6 separate regions of the Homo sapiens genome follow, and all the other regions are linked to region 6. Evidence: promoter capture Hi-C in 16 types of primary human blood cells and fetal thymus (Javierre and others, 2016). All regions are on one chromosome and are shown on one strand. Each heading gives the region's core, a stretch centred on a gene start or on the middle of the fragment in contact. The rest is flanking DNA. Distances are from core to core; before and after follow the strand shown. Region 1 overlaps DZIP3 (DAZ interacting zinc finger protein 3). Region 2 overlaps CIP2A (cellular inhibitor of PP2A). Region 3 has its middle 36 kb from the start of MYH15. Region 4 overlaps CBLB (Cbl proto-oncogene B). Region 5 has its middle 2.1 kb from the start of TRAT1. Region 6 holds the start of BBX (BBX high mobility group box domain containing).

The links. Contacts are between HindIII fragments. The CHiCAGO score rates a contact against its expected background, and 5 or more counts as called.
Region 1: a contact is called between a fragment that was not itself captured here and the fragment with the promoter of BBX in region 6, in 6 of 17 cell types (naive B cells, M2 macrophages, total B cells and 3 more). The highest score is 9.0, in naive B cells.
Region 2: a fragment that was not itself captured here is called in contact with the fragment with the promoter of BBX in region 6 in 5 of 17 cell types (M2 macrophages, M0 macrophages, total B cells and 2 more); the score reaches 12.3 in M2 macrophages.
Region 3: a fragment that was not itself captured here is called in contact with the fragment with the promoter of BBX in region 6 in 2 of 17 cell types (total B cells and M2 macrophages); the score reaches 6.8 in total B cells.
Region 4: a contact is called between a fragment that was not itself captured here and the fragment with the promoter of BBX in region 6, in 1 of 17 cell types (neutrophils). The highest score is 6.3, in neutrophils.
Region 5: a fragment that was not itself captured here is called in contact with the fragment with the promoter of BBX in region 6 in 5 of 17 cell types (naive CD4 T cells, non-activated CD4 T cells, fetal thymus and 2 more); the score reaches 8.0 in naive CD4 T cells.

The regions. Positions count from the first base shown.
Region 1 is chr3:108,599,856-108,603,438 of GRCh38, reverse strand. The region is part of intron 1 of DZIP3 (DAZ interacting zinc finger protein 3); the gene reads right to left. Among named protein-coding and RNA genes, the nearest start is that of DZIP3, 12 kb to the right of the region's middle. The HindIII fragment of the contact is 626 bases long and covers 1,684-2,309 here.
Region 2 is chr3:108,564,516-108,567,937 of GRCh38, reverse strand. CIP2A (cellular inhibitor of PP2A) reads left to right here. Exons shown (of 21, transcript NM_020890.3): 11 at 1,300-1,441; 12 at 2,484-2,583. Among named protein-coding and RNA genes, the nearest start is that of CIP2A, 23 kb to the left of the region's middle. The HindIII fragment of the contact is 2,532 bases long and covers 35-2,566 here.
Region 3 is chr3:108,544,534-108,548,020 of GRCh38, reverse strand. It overlaps a transcript of MYH15 not described here. Among named protein-coding and RNA genes, the nearest start is that of MYH15, 36 kb to the right of the region's middle. The HindIII fragment of the contact is 683 bases long and covers 1,341-2,023 here.
Region 4 is chr3:105,858,937-105,862,054 of GRCh38, reverse strand. The region is part of intron 2 of CBLB (Cbl proto-oncogene B); the gene reads left to right. Among named protein-coding and RNA genes, the nearest start is that of CBLB, 8.5 kb to the left of the region's middle. The HindIII fragment of the contact is 4,116 bases long and covers 1-3,118 here.
Region 5 is chr3:108,819,117-108,822,301 of GRCh38, reverse strand. No RefSeq gene overlaps it. Among named protein-coding and RNA genes, the nearest start is that of TRAT1, 2.1 kb to the left of the region's middle. The HindIII fragment of the contact is 1,565 bases long and covers 622-2,186 here.
Region 6 is chr3:107,521,161-107,524,354 of GRCh38, reverse strand. It overlaps BBX (BBX high mobility group box domain containing), which reads right to left and starts at 1,393. Exons shown (of 18, transcript NM_001142568.3): 1 at 1,248-1,393. RefSeq lists silencers at 717-786, 897-986, 1,017-1,326 and an enhancer at 1,727-1,776. The HindIII fragment of the contact is 5,936 bases long and covers 1-2,466 here.

The DNA.
Region 1 (3,583 bases), core at 747-3,246, 1.1 Mb before region 6:
AACTACAGCTAATAACGAAGCAGAGAGGTTGAATAAACCTTGTCATTCACACTAGATCAGATCTGCTTCATCTCTTTAATAAAGCTGTATAGAAAAAGACATAACTGAGGATTTTAGAACTGTGATCAAACTACTTTTATGGTTTCTATAATTCTCTGTGTTATTTTAATAAAAAGTAACAACAGTTAAGGCATTATTTCATACCTAGAGAATACAAATGTACGCCTTTTCCAGATAACAATCCCCTCATTTCCAGAATTTATCAAAGCTCAGACTTGGAGTCCTCCCCCTCTGCTAAGCTCTTCTTTGGCCAGTAGCTGTTTGCATAGATCACAGCAAGGATGAAAAGAAGGGAGGAAAATCCTCTGGTGATGAGATAAGAGAGGACAGAAGGCCTCTGCTAAGCTGTTCAGTGTTCAGCTTGAAAAAGAAATGGGTGGAAAATTAATCAACAAATCAAAAAGATACTTGGATCCCGAATTAACAGAGTTAAGAAAGGCTAGGGCTTTTTCAGCTTGCTCAAAATACAACCTGAGATGAATCTCTGTGATGAAAGGTTTTCCAGGAGAAAGAATCATCAATCTCATCATTTCCCAGGAGCTAAACAGGTATGTGTGGCAAACACTACCAGCAATAGCAACAGCAGTAGCACTTTACAGCCTCTGTTGCGAGAAAGGCGAAGTGCCTAGCAACCAAAAGGAAGCAGTCAGCCTGAAATGTCACCACTGAGCTGCTAAAATAACCCAAAGGTTTTTACCATTCTAGAAGAGGAAACCTTTTAAGAAAGCGTTAACATGAAGGAAAAAAAAGAAAGGTAAATCTAGTTTCCCCTAGCGTATTCATTTCAATAGACTTTCCCTGTCGGCAGTAAACTAAATTTACTCTGACTTCCTGGGATTAAGAGACTGCTCTTCTCCAGAAATCTATTTAGGTCCTTGTTGGTTGATCTGAGGGCAAGCTAAAGTTCAATGTCAATTTACAGCACACCTTTATCCACTAACCAAGATGATCTTATCTGTAGGCTGTGTTTTACTGGTTGAAAAATAAGGTAATACCATCCATATCTTAATAAACAGTGACATGCCTTCCTTACTGTTCCTTCTACCTGAACTCTCAGTTCCTACTTTCCCTCTTACTTACTGAAATTTTAACAATTTTTTTTAGTTGTAAAGGTATTTTGTTTCCATTTTTAAAGCTGTGTTTATTCACGTCAAAGCAGGCACAGCTCTTATGCATAATTTTTTAATAATCCACTTAAACATTTAACTTGTGTTACTATCACCTTCCTAAACTGTATATAGGCACATTTTTATAAAAATCCACTCAAATGTTCATCTTGACTAAAATGTTACCAAAATACCAAGGGTTCAGTCTAGATCCTACTGCTGGCCGCCTGGAAAGATAATCACTGAAACAAGTTTTGCCTAGGAAGAAGGCTTTAATTGGGTGCTACAGCTGGGGAGATGAAGCTCAATCTCAAATCTATCTCCCTGACTGACTAAAACTAGGGGTTTATATAGCAGGGAAGAAATGTAATAATGTGCAAAAAAATAATAACTAGGGAGGGGCAAAGAGGCATCTGGTGAAGTGATCTGGTAATTTTCAGTTCTTGGATACTTTTTTTTGAGAGGCCTAAAGGTCGTTTCCTGAGGAAGAAACTCAAATAAATACAAGTTTCAAGCTTTAACACCAGAAGGGTCAATCTCTATGTTTATCCAAAAACAACTATCTATGGCACTACTGGGTTGATTTCAAAAATACCTGGCCAAGATAGAGACTCTAATATGCCAACAAGTTTACATTTCAAAGTGTGGGTGGATGTCCCGTGAATTTCCCTCCCTTGTCAACTCTAGCACTTACAGATTATACAATGCCAGGAGGAAAAAGTGAGTATCGGTGTGGAAAACAATAAAAATAAAGCTCATACTTTTCTCCACGCTACTAACTTAAAACAAAGTAATATATTTTGTCTTTTTCAGGAAAGGAATACAGTTTTTAAGAACTTTTCCTATGCCCAGTATATCAGGCTCTCTCAATTTTGGAACTACTGACATTCCAGCCTGGATAACCCTGTTACGGGAAGTTTTCCTATGCATTTTTAAGATGTTTCACAGCATCCCTAGCCTCCATCCACCAGATGCCAGAGGCAGCTCCCCACCAACACACACCCACACCCACACATCCACACACCTCAGCCCCATTGTGGCAATCAACGATATCTCCAGATATTGCCAAGTATCCCTTGGGGCATAAAATTACTCTCCATTGAGAAACATTCAGCTAAATGAATGAGTTAAGATTAACAAGCTTAATTAAGTGGACCTAGAGATTGTTCTGGGGAAGAAAAATAAGACCATCCTGATATTATACAACATGTACAGACACAAACAAACTTACGTCTACAAGAAAGCAAAATGACATAAAGTATGCAGATATCCATTAATGTCAAAATTATTTGAGTTTCTTCGTTAGATAAGGAAGCTGAAGCACAGAGAAAGTTTATTAATTTCACATAAAATCACACAGCTAGCTAGTGAGTGTCAAAGCAGAGTGTGTGTCAAAGCATACCCTTACAGAGTGATTACAGTGCTCTTAAACTACTGTAAGGGTATTCCTTATCTAAAACATAGGGATCCATAGGAGGTACAACAGTACCTCCTTCATAGGGTTGTAAAGATTAAATGCTTAAAAGACAGAATAGTACCTGGCACGTAGTAAGCACTATATAAGTGTTCCTATCATCACCATTTTCATAATCATAATCATCATCATTTAACTGTTTAGGTTTGCAGCAAAATTAATTAACTTTTCTTCTAATTCCCTACTGTGAAGGAGAAATGCTATTGTTTGGAAAGGAATGTTAATGAGATTTAAGAAGTGGGATAAAAAATTATTTTTCAAATACATCACATGACACAAAAGACAACATAATGTGTGCACACTGTTCAGCACCTTGCATTTTTCATACCAGCACATATACATCTACTTTAGTCTTTAAACTGCATGATATACCAATGTATGCATGTATCATTTTACCAGACCTTTGATTAAAAACTTCAGCTGTCTCTAGGTTTGACTTTAAAAAAAAAAAATGCTATTACAAACAATGCTGTAATACCACCACCTTGAACATGCAACTTGGTTAAAATTTTGATAGCTATTTTGAAAAGCTGGATTTCCTAACTCAACATTGAATTAAATGTACTCCAGAAGATCATGGGTCTGTTAACAAGCAGACTCTGACACTGCTAGTTATCATTTCTGCTAAATTTTACCAAAAGAATTCCAAAAAACTCCTCAAAGTTGACACATCAAGATGCTATGGTCACTTCAACCCTTAAAAACACTGAAGAAAACACTTTCAAAGAACATGGCAGGACATTTTGTGATAGGAGTTCCTTGGAATCAGAATTTTAACTATTGTTGATCTGAGTACATCTGCTAGATTAGCAGCAATAACTAGCCATTCTTTGTGGCTTTTGAAATGACTGTCTTAGTCATTGGGGCTGCTATAGTAAAGTACTATAGAAACAACAGAAATTTATTTCTCACAGTTCCGGAGGCTAGAAGTCTGAGATCAATG
Region 2 (3,422 bases), core at 51-2,550, 1.0 Mb before region 6:
GTTAAAGTACATTTTTTAAAATGCTGTTTAAGCTTGATTTTGACACTTGTATCACAATTTGACATTTGGTGGTAAATTCTAAAATGACTATTCTGTTACTCCATGTTACTGTTTTCTGCTTGATGCTAATTATTTCCCCTGGACGGACGATCAGTAGTGCCATTTTTTGGTGATGTGTATTCGTGGATAAAGAAATGCTGATAGAGTTGTCATGATTTTAGCTCAGTTGTTTTACCTTATGTTTTAAAAATAAAGCCTTCATAATTGCTTTAATAATGGTTATAAGAAAAGACAAGTATATCAACACAAATTCATTCATTTAAAAAGAAACCTTTTAGTTTCACTGCTTAACTTCTATATACTGATTTTCTAGGTCTTCCTTGTGTTTACTTTTTCATAGACCAACTAATTCTGAGTTGCTGGAAGTCCCAATTTTAAAATATTTCATTAATACTTTTTTACTATGAGCAAAGAGCCACTGTATCTCAACCAGATCTCTTAAATGTATCTAGTCAGGTTTCCTTGTATCTCAGAGCAACAAGAATATGTTCTACTCTGTCCTAGAGCAAACTCCACCCCTGTTTAATATCCTCTTCTAAGGTACTGCTCCTTAATTTTCTTCCTTTAAAGCAGTGACTTTCAACCCTGATTTCCTACCTAAAATCACCTGGAGAACATGTAAAAAAAAAAAGAAAATCGATGCCAGAACCTTACTTCAAGAGTTTCTAATTTAATTGGAGTGATGTGAAACCCTGAAATCATTAGGTGGTGTGTGTTTGCATGTTGGCTTTTTTGTTTGTGATTGTTTAAACTACCTGGTTGATTCTAACATGCAGCTAAAGTTGAGAACCACTGCAGTAGGGATACATGATTGCTTGACCTTGGAGATATTTATAATTAATAAAGTGGGGCCTTCTCATTGAATTGGACCACAACTTTTAAAATAATAGCTATTTACATTAATTTATAATATACAAATATGACAAAACAACTTACCCTTATTCAATAAATATTTATTGAACCATTGAGATTCTTGCTAACAAAAAACAGACATCCAATGGAAAGATATCCTCGCTGTTTTAACCATTGAGTCAGAAACCTTTGGTGCCAGTCCATCTCTTACCACTTGCTAGTCATTTAAATTGTGTGAGTTTCAGTTTCCTTGTTTGTCATTGAGCTAATTTAACAATAATTATACTGGATGACAGTGATGATATAATTTGTATGAAATCATCCTGAATGTTATCTTTTACACATAAAGTGAGAATTTTTTTGTTGTATATCTTAACAAAACTTAACCTCTCTGTGGAGATGATACACTAAAAATGCATATTGCAAAAATCTTGACAACTGTCAAGTGTACCACTCTTATAGAACAACAATTTACATATGGCAAGATTGACCTGGGATTTGGAACAAAGGTTGCAGATTCTGAATTATGGTGAGTATATAAACTCTAATGACAAAATGGCAAGGCAGTAAAAAATCGAAAGATGTGGTGATTCTCATCCTTTTGGAGGACCATCCTTTGGTTATAACTTAAGATATAACAGATTAACAAACATATTTTCATAATGAATTTTTTGTAAATTCATTCAATTTGTAGATTGTGTGCTTTTTGAAGAAAGGTATTAACATTTGTTGTTTTTTATTGTTTAGGTTTGTTTTGTCTTGTTTTAACTTACTATAATTATCTAAGGGTTCTGAACATTTCTGGAGCTCCTTTTTGACATTGCCTCAGTAATCAATTTTACTTTTTTAAATGAAAAGCATGAAAAAACAGAAGAGTAGTTTTATTACAAGGAAATCAGTCACTGCTAAAGGCTTTTTAATAACAGACAACTCTCCTTCCTTGGCAGGTCAGGAATTATGGTTAAAGGTGGATTTTCACTGATGGTAATAAGATATTACTTTATACCCCTTCCCTCCTCATGAATTAAGTCCATCTAATCTTTACTGAGGACCTGCTGAGTGGTAGACACTATGATTTGTTTCTGTTTCCACAGATGTCACAATTGTCAGTAATTGTGGACCTTTAGAGTAAGAATTATCTGTTTTTATATTTGTATACTACTTTCAGGTACAAAACTCAGAACATGACCTAGTGTAATTCATTCATTACGTATTAGATATTCTATATTGCCTAAGGTTACCGTCTGTTGTTGATATTCTAGTGACAAAGCTAAGAATTAAATGAACTGTGTTTCGAAACTACTACTTACTTGAAACAGAAAGTTGAAGCAGGTTGGTAGTAAAAGAAACACTGTCTAAACTAAGGCTATTAATGCCAGTTTGTTCTCTTTGGATCTTGAGTTATAAGAATGTTGATTGAGATTTTTACTTCTCAATAGAAACAGGACTTTATCATCTTGAATTTAAAAAACACAAGTGTTGGTTTTTTTCATTTTCTTTAGAATTTTGGACAGAAACAAGCTCTAAGAAATTTTTCAGTTATCTAATTTAAATGTGATTTATCTTTAAAGCAAACTTGCTGCTGATGTAATTTTGAAAACTCTTGATTTGATTAACAAACTTAAACCATTGGTTCCTGGTATGGAAGTAAGCTTCTACAAAATACTTCAGGTGAGTTTAAACTCTTCAAACATTGAAGTTTATTCATACATAAATGGTCCTAATATAAGTTTCTGTTTTAATATTCTTAATCTTTAGAAGATAATTCTCTTAGAATTGGCAATGAGAAGAAAGTTTAAAGTTGTTGTCTTAAGCAGTTATAATAGTCTCACTGCACAGTTATTTTATATACTTTCACAGGAATTGAACATAAGTGCTCATGACACTAATGTAGAGAATGTTCACAATAGTGCTGCTTCCTCAGCCTTTTCCTTTCTTGTGTTGTATTTGTATATTTCTTCATTTGTTTCTGTTGGCATTGGAGGAAGAGTGATATTTGTTTTAGGGTTTTTGTTTTTGGTTAGGGTTGATGTAGGGTATTAAGGGGATAGGGAGACAGCTGGAAGAAAAGGATTGTGATAATTAGAAGGGCTGTGCAGAAAATAGCTAACTCACAAATTTCAATGATAATAGTAGCTGAATATGATCTCTAGCTGTTATCAAAAGGCAAAGTACAACAAATTTAGTTCAAAGTTCTAACTGGCTTTTATTTATGATTCTAGAATTTGGCAGCCTCATTCTATAAAATAGAATGAATCATTCCCCTGGGCTAAGCAGAGAAGGTTGACTTTATAGACCAGAAAAGGGCTGAAGAAAGCACAAATAGGGAACTAAAAGCAGATTGGTCATTTCAAAGTTACTTTTCCTATAGAATTATAATAAAGGGGGCTTCCTTATTATACTAACTCAGGTTGACTGAAATCTCCTGGTTTTTTGGAAAACTGGCCCATTTCAAAGTGCAGTTTGATTACATGGCACTCATCCAAGTGACTCCTTTCTGGTTTGATCTG
Region 3 (3,487 bases), core at 433-2,932, 1.0 Mb before region 6:
TGCTTTAAGCAATTACATGGAAAGACTCTGGCTGTCAACATCAGTATGTTCACCTCTTTGCATGCACCAATACAAAGTAGTTTCTTCAGTGTAACACTCCTGTTTTTCCTTTTGGAAATAATAAGTAATTTGTGGGCAGATACTGCATATAGGCTGTTTCTCTTCCAACTTGCATCTGCTACTTTTAGTATTGTTGATAATTCTTACTTGAATCAGTTATTAATTTGATGGTTGGTTGCCAAGTGGATATTTTCCTACTTTTTAAAGGTAGAAAATTGAACATTTTGGTAATTTTATAATGTACTGAAAATAGCAGTCTATATGACATCACCCATATCATTCACGAAATTAAAATATAGTACTTAGAGTTTTTCAGTTAATACAGCATTTACTTTTTTTGCATATTCTTACAAGCAAAGCATGTGAGATTTGCTTTCTGTAGTTTAAGAAAATAAATAGGCATGTTAAGCATATTGATTTTTTTTTAACTACAAGAACTTTTTGATATTATTTTTCTACCCAAACCCCCTAATTTGAGAATTGCCTATTTAAATCATGACATTCAATTCATTTGGATCATCACTTTACCTTGGCTCTCAGTGATTACCAATAAATATTAAATGAGTATTACCCATAATAAAGTATTTTGGATTAAGAAAATAATTGTACATTTCCAGCCTTCACTAAGTTTACATTCTAGATAATTAACTTTTAAAAATTAAAACTTGGTCACTGCTCATGCCTGTAGTCCCATAATTTTGGAAGCCTAGGCAGGCAGATCATTTGAGGCAGGGGTTCCAGACCAGCCTGGGCAACAAAGTGACACACGTCTCCACAAAAAATAAAAAAAAATTAGTTAGGTGTGGTGACATGTCCCTCGGGCTGCAGTGTAGTGAGCTGTGATTGCACCGCTACACCTCAGACATATATATATATATATGGCCTATTTTTTTAAAGGCAGATGTTTCATTGATTTTTTATGTTGTGAATAATGAGCATGATAAGTCCTTGAAATTATATACCTCTGTACTCCATAAATTGAGAGGGAACATTGTGAACTCAAAAAATCATGGTTTATTTTCAACATGCAAATCACTTTGAAACCTTACACAGTCTCACTGAGTTAAGCATTTTGCAGCGAACTGACTTTCTTCCTGTCATCGAAGACCTCTGTGAGTCCCGTTTGGTTTATACTTGTGTTCATTTAAATATTTCAAAACTACCCCAGAAAAAACTTTATTATCACATAACCATGAATAAGAGGTATAACTCTTAAAACTCACCTTTTTTTGCACATTGAGCTACAAGTATCCCTTCATAAATGCAAGAAGGAGTAAGCTTCTTTCCTTCCAACTAAATATAACATTTTAGTTGTCTATTTCCTAAGGACCCAGTATCTATATTCTCTCGATATCTCAAAATATGATGGATAATCCCAGGATACATAGCAAAGGACTTTTTACATTCTGTCCACTACTACATTAGAGAGTGACATTTTCAAAGTCAACAGAGTGGATTGGCTTTCACTTTCATTATGTTATTAAAAACTAATTTTCCAGTAAGTAGCTGAGCATTTGGCAGGGATTTAGTAATGAACATGATTTTGCCTCTCCATTACATTATCTTCACTGTTATTCTAAGTATCATATTTCATCTCACTTATCTCAAAGAGCCAAAAGATATAATGTATTAGAGTAGTGTTATGCTTTTCTCAAACTTCAAATAAAAAGGCTTATGATTAGCCCTAGCAAAAGACAGCACTGTTCATCTTCAATTAGGCAGGGTTTTCATTTTAACTGAAAGTAAAGGCTACTATCAACTACTCCATACTAATTTGTGTAATACCCACAGTTAATCAGCATTTTAGAGCTGAGAGAATTCTGAAAGAACAGTGATCCCAACCCCTTTGTGTGTAAAAACGATGTGAAAAAAGATGCATTCTCAGAAAAGAAGTCCCATGATTCAAACACAAACTGATATGACTTTTAAATTAGTATGTGTTGTTATGGAACACACAGAAGCTTCACTTCTAGCAATTTATCTGAAAGAAATAAGGTTGTGCACTAAGATTTATGTACAGTAATATTATGGCACAAAATTGGAAACAATTTATACAGTAATAGGAGATTGGTTAATCAGTATAAGGTACAGTCATGGAGTAAAATATCATGCATCCTTTTTGAAAAGTTACTGAAATATATAATAGGTATTGGGAAGAGATTTTTGGTGTGTTAAGTGAAAAAAAGTAAACCAAACTATTTGTAAACAATGATTCAGATACCTGAATATCTTTAAGATTTGTTTGTGTGTGTGTGTGTGTGTGTGTATGTGTATATTAGAAACAGTGAACAGTGGTAACCTCTGCATAATGAAATTATAATTGACTTTTTTGGTTTCTAGAAGTACAATGTTACTTTAACTTTTTAAAACCATGTTTTAAAACATTGGTTTGGTAACCGCATCTAGATTTGAGTTCTGGCTCTACCTAAGGAAAGTTTTTATTTAATGTTTTATTCTTCTGTAAAATGAGAATAACACATACTTGTTAGAAAAAATACAAATAAAGCTCATGGCTTTTAGTAGATTTTCAATAATGGTTTATCTCCCTTTTGGAGATGGAACGAAGTAAAAAGTTTTATGTCCTTTGTCCTTGGTTTCCTCTTTCTCTTCATCAAACCTTTGGCCAATTGAGAAAGTAAAATGAACGGTAAAGATTCTCTGTTATTTTCGAGAGTAGTAGAGGATGGAGAGATTAGGGGTTAAATCTTTAAATTATTGTCTACACCCCAAGAGTAACACTTTTATTGACTAGACTAGTCTGGGTTGCTCAGACTAACTTATTTATATTAGATATCAATTATAAGCAGTGGTAAATTAACATCTCTTTTTGAAAGAAGCATTTTTCATACTTCAGATTAGCCTTAGGTATCATAGTAGTTTCTAATTAATGACTGTACCTACAAAATTCATTGTGAGGTTGTACATTGTTACTTCTTTAATTTCCTGGAGGAGATTATGAGGAAAAGATGTAGTTAAGAAAAGTTTGCCAAATTTTAGTGGTAAAACAATATGTCTAGGACTTGGATCCCATTATGTTCCCAGCTCTTTTGACAGATTTAAAAGTTTTCCTAATCTATGTTAGTATTTCTATTTAGAAATACCATTTTTGTAGTAGGCTCTTTTTTAAAAGTCCAAAGACATTTAGTGTTATCTACCTTAAAGTAGAGATGTATGTGTTGTGTTTACAGAGATAATGAAAATACAAACCTTTAATTATAATATCAAGGAAGGGTTACAAGAATCTTGGGAATTTGTACAGAATCCAGAGGAGAGAGAACTCAATAATAAATATTTGAAGCTGGCTGTGTAAAAACACTTTGAGAGAACAATAAGCAAGGTCACCCTGAGCCATTTAGTCTGAATGACATTTCATGCAAATACCCTTCAGATTAGACTGACTGAAGCCATGACTTGAATTGCTGCTATC
Region 4 (3,118 bases), core at 246-2,745, 1.7 Mb after region 6:
CATAGATTAGTGATGAGAAAGGTAGAATTAAACCATAATGACATCCTAGGTACAAACAGCTTTAAGAAGAAGATAAAATCTGAAGTTCTGATAAAACTAAGTTCAGATTCAAGTAGAGAAAACCAAACAGGGTGAAAAATTAAGAAGTCATTGAATTGTATGATTAGAGGCCATTATTGACCTTTGTGGAGCAGTTTAACTTATGTGATGGGGTGAGATTAAAATGAGTATGTGGATTATTTAAAAATTGTTCTAGAACTGTAACAACAATGAAAAGGAAGGGAGTTCTGTTAGCTTGAGGATTTGAACATCATTGAAATAACTCTGTGTGTGTGTGTGTGTATGTATGTGTGTGTGTGTGTGTGTGTGTATGTGTGCACACACCATAGGAGAGGTTCAAAGATTGGTGGGAAAAAAAAAAGATTGATGGGAAAGGATGTAGTTAGGGAATGGCCTAAGATGCAAGGGAAAAAGAAATAGTTGAAGCAGTAGCATTCTAGATTAAACTGTGGGAGGGAAAGAGTAGGAACAAGTAGAAGGGTTAATCTTGGCGAATAAATGTAACTTCCACTTACACAGGAGGAAAGCAAGGGAATATACAGAGAAGTTTTGAGGGAATTTGTAAATTTTATATTGGGTTGTCAGGAAGTGATTTAAGGCATAATATTTATAATGTTTAAACCATGTTTTTAATTTTTATATCATGAAATATGCAATATATGTATTTTAACTAGTCTTCTAGCATTTAAGTGGGTAAATAAGTAAAAAATTAAAATGGAAATCAATTCTCATCTTTAATATTAAGTTTATCTTATTATACACTTGCTGTGACTTAGAGGATGCCACAGTGCTATTTTTATCTACTCTGCTTGGGCATATATTAATAATATTATTACAATTTTACTAAAGGTTTTTTTTGTTTTTAAGTATTTGTAGGTTGCTAATTTTTTTCAAGTAATGAAAGACACATTTTGAAAATATCCAACACATTTTATAGGTTTTTAACATAGTTACATTTAGATGATTGTTGAGCTTATATTATCTTACAGTATCAATGAAAAAAGTATTAATAGTTATAATATTCTACCTGTTAAAAGATTTAAAAAAATATTAAAGCCCTACGTCTTTTCCTGAGAGCCTCTTGGGTTTGAAGAAACCAGAGGATTCCATGTCAGCTGACAGGAACACTGACCTGGGCTTAGCCTTATTTCCTGCTTTTCTGCACAGAACATTCCAGGCTTTTTAAGGGTTTTAGGCAGCATGAGTAACTTTATGAGCTAAAAGAGCTTCTAAAAATCATGATCCTCAACAAACTGTTCAGTGCCCTTGGTCTAATTTTCATACCTTTGCAAAATCTGCAGGGATTTTGCCTTGTGATGGAATGTAAAATATGGAAGGGAGAAGAAATATTAAGAAGGAGATAGGGCTAACTATGTTCTGGACACAGTGCATAGCACTTTACATTTCCTCTTGTAAGAATTATAATATCCTAAGAGGTTTCCCGAAGAAGAACCCTGCCCAAGGTTGTAAAGCTAGTAAATGTTAGGGCCAGATCCTAGGTTTGCTTGATTCTAATGTCTGTGTTCACAGTATGAAGAGTGAAGCACACTGCTCCATGGAATAATATGATGCTTCCTTTTTCCAAAGGAAGTAAATCAAAAGGGCATTTCCCCTCCTCCACTTCCATATTTGATATTATCAAATTCTTCTCCAAACTTTGTACTCATTTTTAGGCAGCTTTATTCAATGTAGTTGTGGATATGCTATTTGTAATATAATTTTCCTGAGAGGTTCGTCCTTACCTTGTTTGCTTCCTCCTCCTCTTCCTCCTTTCTGCCATCAAATATTTGTTGCACATCTACTATATGCAAAGTTCCATATTAGGTGATAGAGAGAGACCAATGAGAAAGACTGTTCTTCACTTTCAAGGAAGTTCCATTCTCATTTGGAAGAAAGAGAGTGAACAGAATACACAATTGATATTTTAATTACAACTAGTCAGTTCTTTAATGGTGCTTCTTAATGTCAATCTTCTGAAGACATCTTCGTGGAAAACCATAAAGGTCTTGGTAATTTTCTGTAAATTCAGCTGTGCTGGACTCATGATCAATTTTATATGCCAACTTTGTTTTGCCCAATTAATAATCTATTAAAAAAGTGTATTTTTATACTTTTTTACACTGTACATTTTTATACTTAGTAAAATACATTTTTATAATTTTTATATTTAGTAATTATTTGCTGCATTAAAATGGAAAGAACCCAAAGAACTCTTCGGTACCTGTTATTATAAAGAGAGAGATATATATATACTTTAGGTCACTGTAATAAGAAACCTCTTCTAACATTTATAGGAGGAGGACAGGGCTTTCTTTTTTTTTTTTTTTTTTTTGACACGGAGTCTCACTCTGTGGCCCAGGTTGGAGTGCTGGAGTGCAGTGGCACGATCTCGGCTCACTGCAAGCTCCGTCTCCTGGGTTCACGCCATTCTCCTGCCTCAGCCTCCCAAGTTCCTGGGACTACAGGCGCCTGCCACCACACCCTGCTAATTTTGTTTTTGTATTTTTAGTAGAAACAGGGTTTCACCGTGTTAGCCAAGATGTTCTCGATCTCCTGACCTCGTGATCCGCTCGCCTCGGCCTCCCAAAGTGCTGGGATTACAGGCGTGAGCCACCGCGCCTAGCCCAGGGCTTTCTATATTGTTTTTAAGAATGAGGCAGTTCACTTGAGAGTATATGACTTGATTCAGTGTAACTGAATGCTCCATGAAGTGAGGCGTGTTTTATAATGAAAGTCTTATAGTATAGGCACAATTCCTTACTGTTGAAATTTTCATTTTATTTGGTAAGAGTTCTTTCCTATGTTTCACAGGCTGGTTTGAACCTTGTTTGCAAGGAATGTACTATCTGATCTAATACATTTTTATTACCTTTTGGCTGGAAGTTTTAATTAAGGCGCAGTCAGAAAACTCTTTAAATGCAAGATTATTCCAAGAATAAGTAATGACTTTGAAAATTCTTATAGCATTAGTAAATCCTGTTTTTGTATTTGTGCTTTTGCTTTGATATGGTTGAATATATGTATCTAAATACATATTTATGTATTGGAATGCATAGCC
Region 5 (3,185 bases), core at 155-2,654, 1.3 Mb before region 6:
ACCTTATCAGTATGAGTTTCTCTGTCCAATCTAGAGCCACCTGACAACAAGCTCCTGTTCTCAACCACCATCCCAGAATCTTAATAGCAGCAGTTCTTACATGTTGGTGTACATAAGTATGCTATAAGATGCTAGTTTAAAATCCTGGGCCCGTCTAAATTAGACTATTTAGGGTGAAGCACTAGAATCTGCATTTTAACAAGCAGATTTTCTGAGTGCATTTTAAATTACATATATTGTATATGATAAGATATTTTAATATAGATGTTCTGGACAATGCTTTTGGAAACTCATATAAGGAATAGAATCTATATTATTCATTATTAAAATTTCATAACTAGAATTAAGCACACCGGCACATCGTAAGTCTCAATAATTGAGACTTACTCTCAGTGATTGAACAAACAAAACCATGGGTGTCTTGTGCTTTCTTTGTCTTCCATTATAGAAAATAACTCCCTAGTAAGCAAAATACAGTGCATCTTATCCTTTGGACAAAGCTGGCTAAACACTAACACATTTTTCCACTTCAATCACTCCCCCCCAAAATATTTTTTGGTGAATCGTTGACTCAGAGGCTGTAAAACTGAAAGAGACCTTGGAGATTCTCTGGTCTAAGCTTCTTTAAAAGGGATTTTTAAAGTATGTTCCATAGAACACTCGGCCTTTAAGAAACGCAGAAGACAAATGTTTCTTCAACAAATATCTTTGGAAAAAATATATAGCTTTATTTTTACCTCCGTAGATGCATATTAAAGGCTTAGGTAAGTCCTGCGAAAAGGAAACCCAAATAATATTTTTATCAGAGTTTTTCTAAACTTATTTGGCCAGAGGACTCTTTGTTCAGCCGCTAACCATTAGCAGAGTGACAGGTTTTATGAAGCAGGCCTGGATGCTGACAGAACAAGACTTCAGGGAACAGCAGCCTCAGGTTCATGTAGGGATCAGAGGACAACAAAGAATCAGAAGGTTTCATCTTAGAATTAGATGGAACGTAGGGAGGAAGACTGCTGAAAAGTTGAATCCCAGACATTCAGGAAGATTCGGGCACCTGATAAATCAGTTTGAGAGGAGAGGGCCTAGTTATGGCCTTGAGGAGTTGAGCTTTGGTCCTGAAAGAGGGTAACTGGTAAGAAAAGTAGAAGTCCTAGGCTCAAGAAAGGACTACAGAGGTTACCTAAGCAAGACCTTGGAATATGGGCAAAGTAGATGCCCACAACTCGAGCTTACAGAGGACATTGGAAAGAGAAAGGGTTTCAGGACTGGAAATTTTGGTGCTAGCATTCCTTTGTTAGAACAAAATTATCGCAGAGGATGGGGAAAGAAGGAAGGAAGATGCTTTCATCCCAGCTGATCCATAAAGTGCAATTCCAGAAAAAACGGTGTTTAATTATTATTGGCTGTGAATGGAGAGAAGGTCAACTCAGCAAGAATGACTCAGGCAAAAATGCAGGAACTCTGTGGTTTGCTCAGAAGTATCTCTCAGAGCAGCCCAACAGGAAGAGAGACCCAAAGCAAACCCACCTGTTGGGAGAGCAGCTGTCTAAGGGCTTCCCTGCCTCAAGGGTATGACTTTACCCATACAGCTGCAGGAAGCTGGGGAAGGCAAGAGCAGAAGAGACATTAGGAAGGATATGTCCTGCTTCAGAAAGAGCCTGAAGTACCTGTTGAGTGATTACCTTATGGCTTAAAAGGGTTAATGTACCTCCTATGCATGATTGACATCTCTAAATGGTAAAAACTTAGGCTAATAAATCTGAACCACTTCACAGTTTCTAATTATTACAATATTTTTGAAAAGTGATCTTCATTACAATGTTCCATTCCATAGATTTAAATAATCTACGGAGATGTAACAAGATTGTCCAAGGTCACACAGGAAGTCCGTGCCTGCACATTAGTTAGCTCCATAGATGTTTGAAATTTGCCAGGAAAAAAAAAATAGCTTTTCATTAAATATAGATGGCTGAGCACATGGAAACATTATCAGAATATAAAAAAGCATATGGATATTTATTTGTTATAAAATATATTAGAAAGTGCATTCAGAGATTTGAATGATGGCTTCATGAGCCATGTTTAAATCATAAATAAACATGAGGCCTCTGTAGTACTTTTTAATGAGATGGGTTATCAAAATGGAATTTCAAAGAAAGCTAGACTAAGCAGAAATGTCTCGACAAGCTTAAAGCAGTTAGAGATGTTGTAGGAAATTTTGGGGGGAGGTTTTGATGGGCACCTGCCAAGAAATAAAAATATTAAGGCCAACAAAATTGATGTTTTGTTGCCAAAAGAAAATGAAAAACATGTCAAAATGGCAGCTGCCATTCAGAGTTTCAGAAAAATGGGTCAGAGTGTAGAAAGAGGCCCAGTTTTTCAAACTTCTTTTTTGATGATCATCTATCATTTTTATAATTAATTTTCATCACTATAATGTATTTTCTTATATCTGCGTGTGTGTGTATATATGTATATATGTATACATATATAGATATATATATACACATATATATTCATATATATATATATATATATATATAGAGAGAGAGAGAGAGAGAGAGAGAGAGAGAGAGAGAGAGAGAGGGTTTCCAAGCTGTTGAATAGATATTGTATTTACAAATGTATTTAGCTATTGTTTAAATTACTTACAATAACATGCACTAGTGTTATAATTGGAATAAAAGCTGTGCCCTTATTTTAAAGGCTCTTTATAATATTTGTTTTATTGAAACACTACTTACTTCTCTGTAATTTTTATTTATTCTGGTGAATTGCTGTTTAGTCATACTGAAGCTAGTACAAAGTAAGCAAACAGCTTGATGAGAGAAAGGAGTGGAGGGGCCACCTGGGCTATCAATTATGCTATTTTCAACAGTGAAATTATTCAAAATTGATTATGAGGTTGCAATTGATTCTGATTAGGCTATATTAGTATTTATATTTTCATTGAGTTTAGACTATAAGGTCCTCCAGAAAGCATGACTATTCAGACAAAAAAGGTAAAAGCAAATTAAAAGCAATAGAACAATGCATAGACTTAGCATCAGATTTTTCTCTTTTTATTACAAGTATCATGCCTTACAGAACAAGAAGTCTTAAAAATTAAACACTAAAAATATCCTTTATTTTTAAAGCATTTTACAAGATTACTGTTATAAAGCATATGTTTTAGAAAACATGGGATC
Region 6 (3,194 bases), core at 144-2,643:
TTTCTGTAATTTACTAGCGACCCGGATCGCAGCAAATAACAGTGTAACACGAGTGTGGCTTAAGAGGGCTAGGGAGCTCTTTCTAGAGGCATCGACCCCATCCCCGGATAAAGGATCTGCAAGTTTTCTGTCATCGCGACCAGGCAAAGCCGTAACTTACCTTCAGAAATAAGACTTTAAACGGCCAAGGCCTTCCTCCTCCCCTCCACCACCACCCTCAGCCTCGCTCTCTCCACCTTAAACTTATTGACACAACATAATCCCACATTCAAGCAAAATCCTGACACAGCCTCCCTCCTCCTCTTCCCCCTCCTCTCTTCCCTCCCGTTCTCTCTCTCCCTCTCTCTCTGTCTCCCTCTCTCCCCCCCCTTCCCTCCCTCTTCTCTCTCCCCTTCTCCCTCGCCCTCTTCCCCCTCTCCCCCTATTCTTCCTCCAGGCTACTCTGGCACTAAAACAGCACTTTCTCTACTCGCCGCGCATTTGGGTAGGGGTGGGGGGTGAGAGGGCACTGATCTGCGGGGCCGGAACACCCAAATCCCAACTCTCCAGATGAACGAGCAACTGGGCTGCTGTTCCCGGTCACCAACGCAGACGAAACGTTCAATAAATCCACCGAAGGCTGGCTCCTCGTACCTTCCTCCACTGCCCCTGCTCCCCAGGCCCCACCTCCCCGGCAGCCGAGACCAGGCAGGGCTCCACGTACTTTCGCCGAGATGAAGTTTGGGGCTCCCCGGGCGGCCACGAGCCGCCCGCCGGCGTGAGGGCTCTGTTGTTGTTTTCCTGGGGCCGCTCCAGCCCGCGCCCCGGCGCCCGTGCCCCTCTCAGGCGGCGCTGCCTGTGTGCCGAGAGGTGCTGGTTGCAAACGCAGCCTGGCACCGGCTGGCCTACTACTCCCCAGCCCGGCCCCCAGCCTCCCGCTCGCAGGGCACTGCCTCAGCGCCCCCCGCCCCCCGGCCCCAGCCGGCGCGGCCGCCGCGACCCTCGCCCCCGACCTCTCCCGACCCAAAGTTTTGGCGGAGGGGGAAAGTGCCCAGGGAGCGGGCCGGCTGGCGGCGGCTCCGGACGCGCGGGGTTCCCTCCGTCTTCCTCAAGTCCACCCTACCGGCTGCCGCCGCCGCCGCCGCCGCCGCCGCCGCTGCTCCTGCCGCGGAGTCCTTGGGGCTGCAGCCCGGCGGCTCGCAAGTGAGTAGGAAAACAGAAAGTGAGGGGAGTGCGCCCAGGGAGGGCTGGGGATGGGGGGCGCCTACCTCGCGGGCTCGCCGGGCGTGAGGGCGTGTGTGTAGCTAGCCCTCAGCGGCCAGTCAGGGTTTCTCTATGGGAAAGTGGAGAGAAGCTCGCGGAGCCGCTCTGCCTCCGCTTCACTGTACACTGCTCCACATACAGTACATGCAACCCGGAGAGACTGAAAACACTCATTTTATATAAGGCAGCCTGCCATTGGCCCGCGCAGTGACGGACAGGCCGCGCAGCCAAACAAGAGGCCCGTTACACCCAAACACACGCACACATACACACATTTTACAGAGACACACAAAGATCATCACATTTTCTATTTTCTAATGTTCGGGACCTGTAGACAGTAGGAGAGGACAGGTAAAGAGGCCCAGCAGAGTGGGGTAAAGGGGAAAACCCCTGTCTGCACCAAGTTGCAAGGCTTGAAACTGGTGTCCTTTTGACTTGGGAGGGTTATGGTAATAAACTACAACTCCACTGGATATGGAAGTGAGGGGGGTTTTTCATCGCTGCCTTTTGGTGCCCCATGGAAGAGGCCTGCATTGTGTTACGATTTTACAGCCTGACCCGGCTAACAAGTGGCCAAGAAAGGCTTTTATCACCTTGGATTTCTTTTGTCAATGGGTTAGCTATCACATAGGCCAAAATAGTGCAAGATAAGTTTATCAGGACTCTAATGCATTGAGGTTGTTAGTGCCTCATTCGTAGGTAGATTCAAAAAAATCAATATAACAACACACAAAGATAAACATTTTGCTGAAATAGCCAAACAACTTTTAACTGGTCAGTGGACTGCCATCACCTGTGTGGACATGCAAACTGTGCTGTTAGGTAAAATAAGTCATGGAAGATTGGCTATTGACCCTTAGCCTTCAAAACAGACCTTTGATTCAATATATACATGATTTATATTTTGCATATTATATATAAAAATATATGACTCTTTACATATTTCACATCTCATGTGAACATCATATGTTGCATGACTTTTGGAGATGATGAACCTCAGGACTGGTCTTTCTGATTGTTTTTCAACAATGCAACTTCAGAAGATTATATGAGACAGTTCAATACACATAAGTCAACAGGTTGGTGGAAAGAAGTCAAAGCTGGAAATTAGAAGGAATAAATTGTAGATTAAACTCTTTAACCAGCTGAGCAATCTTGAGCAAGTTACTTAACCTCTCCAATGCTCAGACTTGGTTTTGATTTTTAAGATTAAAATAAGAAGCTTTTCCAGATTCCCTCAATTAAATGTTTATTCAGCATCTACTATGTGTCAGGCATTATCTTAGGCCTAGATGTTTTCTTAGGGTTCCTTCCGTTTTAAGAGTTGGTGAATTATTCTCAAATACAAACATTTTGGAGATTACATAAACACTACGATTTTATGGCCTAGGTAAGTAGCTTTAAAACTTAAAGAAAACCCAACTAGGGCAACTTATTTCAGTTCCCCTTTTATTTCCTTGATGCTGTCTTAAGGTTTTTCTCTCGCATCCATAAAGTTGTTAAAAGAGTGTATGTGTGCATGTGAGCACTCCTGTGTAAGAGGGAGAAAGAGAAACAAAATCAGAAAAGTTTAAAAAGTTCAGAAAACAAAGTGGTATTTAGAAATGTGATGTTTATTTTTTTAGAAAAATCATTTTTAAAAGGAAAAGTATATAAAAAATCACAGCATTTTATTTTATTTTATTTTTGAGATGGAGTCTAACCCTGTAGCCCAGGCTGGAGTTCAATGGCGTGATCTCAGCTCACTGCAACCTCCGCCTCCCGGGTTCAAGAGATTCTCCCACCTCAGCCTCCCGAGTAAGCTGGGACTACAGGCACCTGCCATCATGCCTGGCTAATTTTTGTATTTTTGTAGAGACAGAGTTTCACCATGTTAGTCAGGCTGGTCTCGAACTCCTGACCTCAGGTGGTCCACCTGCCTCGGCCTCCCAAAGTGTTGAGATTACAGGCAT